Regions from separate parts of the Homo sapiens genome. Here region 2 is linked to region 1. The links are contacts of gene promoters, found by promoter capture Hi-C in human tissues and cell types (Jung and others, 2019). All regions are on one chromosome and are shown on one strand. The core of a region is centred on a gene start or on the middle of the fragment in contact, and the rest is flanking DNA. Distances in the headings are between cores, read along the strand shown. Region 1 holds the start of TAX1BP3 (Tax1 binding protein 3). Region 2 overlaps LOC284009 (a long non-coding RNA gene).

Region 1 (2,700 bases), core at 76-2,575:
GAATCGCTTGAACCCAGGAGGCGGAGGTTGCAATGAACCGAGATCGCGCCACTGTACTCCAGCCTGGGCGACAGAGCAAGACTGTCTCAAAAAAAAAAAAAAAAAAAAAGTCAAGCTGGTGCAGGGAGGGTGAAGCTTAGGACAGCTGTCAGCTGGTCCAGCAATGTTTCCTCCTGGCCCAGGCCTGAGCCAGTGCTCTAAGCTCAGCCTCACTTGTCGCCTTTATCAGTGGCTTCTCTGCCTCCACCCACCTGATTGCTGGAGCTTCTCCAGCACACCCAACTGAGATAACACACCCAGTCCCTATGGCTCCAGGGCGGGGACTTTCGCTTGACCTACTGCCCACCGGGCAGGCATTTCTTCTCATTCTCTGAACGCTGTCGGGAGGTAGGCAGGAGACCTGAGTCTTTCCTGAGGTGGTCTTTTCTGGCTGAGCACTTCTCTCTGGGACTCCCCACCTCTGTCATAGGGTTGTGTCCCTCTGTGACACCGGCGTCTGAGTCTAACGTCCCAGCCTTCCTTCCTCCCTCTGCCTAGTCTAATAGCACCCAGCACCTAAAACAAGCCAGAGGGCGGCCAGGGGCCTAGGCTAGCCCCCGGAGGGTCTACTCAGGACTCAAGTGCCAGGAGGGAGGCCTGGACTTTTTTGCCTTAAGGGCTGGAGACCCAGGAAAAGTTCGAAGAGGAAACGCTCATCGCAGCTATACGAGCGTCCACCCTGGACCAGGCGGCGAGTGGGTTGGAGGAGCAAGGCTGGACAGGAAGGGGGCAGGGGCTGCCACGGCAGGCTCGGGAGAGCCCCACCCCCAGATCTCCCTCCGGGCGGCGGCGCAGGCTGCAGCGGAGGAAGCATTTCCTCATTCCAGAGGCTGCGACTCATGGACGTCGGGATCGGCGCCCGCCCCCAGCAGCTCCCCGTCTGGGGACACGGAGGCCCGGGAAGGGGGCGCTTTTCCAGGCTCCTGCAGCCAGGCCTTTCCCCGTGGCCCTCCCCGCCCTGCGCACGCAGTCTGGGCTCTGTCCAGGGTCTCGGGAGGCTCTCGGGTCCCGGCCATCCCTGTTTCGTGGCTGGGGGAACTGCGGCCCGCTCCGGCAAAGCGGGGACCCGAGCCCTTGCCGCCGGTTCGCAGGAGCCCCGGGTTCGATGCTCTGTCAACCTGCTTGGGGTGTCCGTTTCCCGCTCTGCGAGGTGGGGTCAGGCCAAGACGAGGAGGAGCCCGCGCAAGCGCACTCACCACCACGGCGGTGACCGGCTGGCCCGGGATGTAGGACATCTCGACCCTGCTCTGGTCGCCCAGCGCCGCTCCGAGAAGCCGGCAGCAGAGTACCCGCGGTCGCGCCCTCGCTGCTTAACAAAGGCCGCCCCGCTCGGCCCGCCCCCTCATGAATAGTTAACAAACCTCCAGCCAATCACTGGCCGGAGCGCCACTCCGCTTTCGGAAGTCCCTGCGCGTGCGCAGAAAAGCGGGCAGAGGGCGGAGCGTGTCCGGGGCGCCCACGGCGCAGGCGCGGAGGGCGGGGCGGGATCTGGGCGCGTGCGCAGCCCGAGACCTCCCGGCAGTCTTCCGAGCAAGATGGCGCCGCGGGCATTTCTTCCACTGCCCGTCTGAGGGAACGCTAAGTAGTGTGTCCGGCGCCGTGTTCCAGGTAACTGGGCCACCGTGGCCGGGGAACGCAGACGCGCCACCACCTCCCGGCCGGCCCGGACCCTCAATCTCCTCGGCGTCTTTGGAAGATCCGAGGCCCAGGACTGGTGCCAGGTCTCGGAAGCTCCAGGGGGAGGGGGCGGCGTGAACCCAACTCACCGAGCTCCGGGCGCCACTTGTAACTTGGTTTTCTCCGCAGCTCCGCGTTGTTCCGCGAGAAAGCGAGAGGCCGAGCCCGGGCTGGTGCGATGGCCGCGGTGGTGGCCAAGCGGGAAGGGCCGCCGTTCATCAGCGAGGCGGCCGTGCGGGGCAACGCCGCCGTCCTGGATTATTGCCGGACCTCGGTGTCAGCGCTGTCGGGGGCCACGGCCGGCATCCTCGGCCTCACCGGCCTCTACGGCTTCATCTTCTACCTGCTCGCCTCCGTCCTGCTCTCCCTGCTCCTCATTCTCAAGGCGGGAAGGAGGTGGAACAAATATTTCAAATCACGGAGACCTCTCTTTACAGGAGGCCTCATCGGGGGCCTCTTCACCTACGTCCTGTTCTGGACGTTCCTCTACGGCATGGTGCACGTCTACTGAAATGGGGGCCCGGGGGACTTTTTTAAAAAACCAGATCGGGAGGACTGTGGCCAGCAATTAACACCATGTAGACTTCCTTAGTTCTTAAGTGGTTGAATTCGCTGCTTGTTCTGTAACGTTATAAATAATTTATATCTGAAGACGGAGAGCCTGTAATATTCTTCAGATTAAATGAAGCGTGAGACACTTTGTGGAGTTCTTTCCTGCTGTAACGCTTAGGCTGCCACTGATGCAAAATCGCCGAGATTTGACTCCTGGAGAGCAAGGAATGGGCCATAGCCTTGTGTTAAGTCCTTGTATTTACACATAGGCCATTCAGAAACGGGCCCTAAGGGCCTACATAAGGAAAGAACTTATTAACATCCTAAGAAGCAGTAACAGTTAATATGTATTAAGAGCTCCCTGGGCCGGGCACGGTGGCTCATGTCTGTAATCCCAGCACTTTGGGAGGCCGAGGTGGGCGGATCACCTGA
Region 2 (2,700 bases), core at 11-2,510, 1.3 Mb before region 1:
CACCGCGCCCGGCTGTTCCTTAAGTTTCTTCATGGCTTCTGGGTGCTTAGTACCTTGGAGCAGGAGAAAAGCTGGGCTGTCCATCATTGTGAGTTTCTCACGAGAGGGTTTCCGTTTTCAGTCTTCCTCCCCGAGTCTTGTGCACCCCACCTCCCAGTTCAAATTCCATTATGTCCTCCAATTTTTTAATCTTTTATTCTTTTTTTCACCAACCACAATAAGAAGCACCAATTCCCCAATTTTTTAATATGCTGAGCCAGAGACATCCCCTTAGTGGAACTGTCTTCCTATCCCCCACCACTCACCTAACAAAGTATCAACTCCAAGAGCTATGAAAATCAGTGCCCTGACTCCTACAAAGCCTGAGTCATGAGATGGGGGAAAGGGCGTGAAGCCGAAAGTACAGATGTTCACAGGAAATCCCAACCCTTCAAGCCTGATGTCTCATCTTTTGCAAGCAGCTAAGGAGCTTTTCACATACCATCATTAAAACAAGACCCATGGGAGGAAGCTGGCTGCAGGATGAAGAGGAAAAAACAGAAGACTAGTACACTCAAGACATACCAGAGAAGATCCATTTCATAAATATTTATTGTGTGCCTGAGGTGCCAAGCACTAGGCTAGGTATGCTGTGGCCAAGGCCAGGGGACCTCTGGTAAGCCAGAGCGGGGCAAAAGCAAACAGAGCGGAACTCCACTCCACTGTGATAACTTGCAAAAGATTAGTTCTGCTGTTCGCCACCGTGCTGGATGCAGCACCAGAGACAGGACGACACGAGGACCCAGAGGGCGCCGCCATGCTCATTTCAGAAGGTGCAGCCTCCGTGTCCGTGGGTCCGCACCCATGGAGGCAACTAACCGTGGATCAAAAATATTCAGGAAAAAAAAATGGAAAATATACAAGAAAAAATAATACAAATTTAAAAACCAACACAGCACAAGAACTATTTACACAGCATTTACATGGTATGAGGTATTTGAGTAGCGCAGAGATGAGTTAAAGGATACCTGAGGATGTGCATAGGTTACATGTAAGGGATTTGAGCATCATCCATGGACAGGTATTCAGGGAGGCTCCAGGAACCAATCCCCATTGGACAGTGAGAAGCAACTGTAATTCCGTTTTTCTATGTAGAGATAAAAACAAATTCAGTGGATTTAAGGCTGGGCCAGTCAACTGAGCCTGATTCCCCCAGTCTGAATGATGAGTGGGACTCTGAATTCCTTTGACAGAGGTGGACCCATTCAATCATCAGTGAAATGGGGTCCCCACAGCCAAAAGTTTCCACAGGACTCTTTACCTCCTTTCCCCACCCCAAGTGAGTTGTCAGAGGACCTCTCCTGAACTCACAGAACAGGTCCAATCAAGTTCCACCTCCCCATTCATGTCCTTTCCAGAAGCTGGGCGCGGTGGCTCACGCCCTAAGTTCCAGCTACGTGGGAGGCTGAGACAGGAGAATCGCCTGAGCCCAGGATTTCAAGGCCAGCCTGGGCAACATAGCAAGATACTGTCTCAAAAAAAAAAAAAAAAAAATTGCAGCCTCACATGATGTCATAGCTGGAAGAGCTGGGATCATGGGGTCTGACCTCCCAAGAGAAGGTGTATCCAAGGTCACAAAGCTGCCAAGCATCAGCTAGGTTGAGAAGTGGCCTGGTCCTCCTCTTTGGCTGGCTGGGCCAGGCCTGGGGAAGTGCTATCAGTGTGGGGTGTTGAGTCCCTGAAAGCCTCCCAGAAGTGGGTGAAGATGGAGAGGGAACTCCACCCCTCCTCGTTAAAGACAGGAATAATCATTCACTTTGCTTAGTGGTCCCCAATAAACAAGCTTAGCAGATAAGCGGGAAGACAGGGAAAGGGAATCAGACTTGGGATCCAGGAGCTCGCAGGACCCTGTTCTGCCCCAGGCCACTCAGGAATGGAGAGCTGCTAGCTGGACCTGGGTAGGTCACCATTACTCACTGGGGCTTTTGTCTGGCATGAAAGGTGACGGGAGAAAGGGGCAGATTTTTATCCAGGCAGCCACCGTGGGTGTGGACACTGAGTAATAAGGAAAGAAATGCAGTTCAGAAGCAAAGAGGGAGGAGCCAGGTCCTCTGAGCTCTTCTGAGAAACCAGAGCCCAGTCGAGCTCTGCAGCTAGAGTGGCAGCTGCGGATGACAGTGGGTCAGAAGCTTGGTGGGAGGAGGCTGACCCAGCGGAAAGGCACAGGAGACGGATGACGATGTCAGGGATTCCTTTAAAGGAAAAAAGAGGTGGCTTTATGACAGCAAAACTAATTCAGGTCAAGGGAGTGGGACTGGGCAGAAGTTATGAGTAAAGCCGGGTGGAGTCTTGCCATGGGAGTCAAGAGTCCGCTGGATCACGCAGGGGTGGGGACATGGTGATAGGGAAGAAACCTCCCAGGACCGACGGGCTGCAATGTGATCAGTGCCCCACACAAAGGACTAAGGTCTATATCCCAGCAGCCCCAGTTCACACCCAAATGCAAGGCTGTAGCATCAAGTCTTGAAAGCCCAAGAGATCAGCAGCCTATGCCAGGAATGAGGCTCTCTCTGGAGGCAAGGCCGAGAGCAGTGGCCGGTCACTGGCTGCACAGCCCAGAGCAGATACCACAGAGCCAGGGCTCAGCTCCAGGTGCACTATGAGATCTCTCCCCAAGGCCCCAGGGCCCACTGGGAAAGGACACACCACTGCTGCCCAGCC

The links. The method cuts DNA at HindIII sites, captures the fragments that hold promoters and counts their contacts. A contact is called where the count stands out against the background at its distance.
Region 2: a contact is called between a fragment that was not itself captured here and the fragment with the promoter of TAX1BP3 in region 1, in 1 of the 25 tissues and cell types used here (dorsolateral prefrontal cortex).

What each region holds. Positions count from the first base shown.
Region 1 is chr17:3,667,253-3,669,952 of GRCh38, forward strand. TAX1BP3 (Tax1 binding protein 3) reads right to left here and starts at 1,326. Exons shown (of 4, transcript NM_014604.4): 1 at 1,236-1,326. The coding sequence starts at 1,274. EMC6 (ER membrane protein complex subunit 6) reads left to right here and starts at 1,560. Exons shown (of 2, transcript NM_031298.4): 1 at 1,560-1,647; 2 at 1,846-2,413. The coding sequence starts at 1,895. The coding sequence ends at 2,227. P2RX5-TAX1BP3 (P2RX5-TAX1BP3 readthrough (NMD candidate)) reads right to left here. Exons shown (of 15, transcript NR_037928.1): 12 at 1,806-2,700. RefSeq lists enhancers at 120-651, 652-1,182, 1,715-2,245, 2,246-2,700 and a silencer at 1,274-1,613. The HindIII fragment of the contact is 19,427 bases long and covers 1-2,700 here.
Region 2 is chr17:2,405,000-2,407,699 of GRCh38, forward strand. LOC284009 (a long non-coding RNA gene) reads right to left here. Exons shown (of 3, transcript NR_028335.1): 3 at 1,982-2,231. Among named protein-coding and RNA genes, the nearest start is that of MNT, 5.3 kb to the left of the region's middle. The HindIII fragment of the contact is 5,447 bases long and covers 1-2,700 here.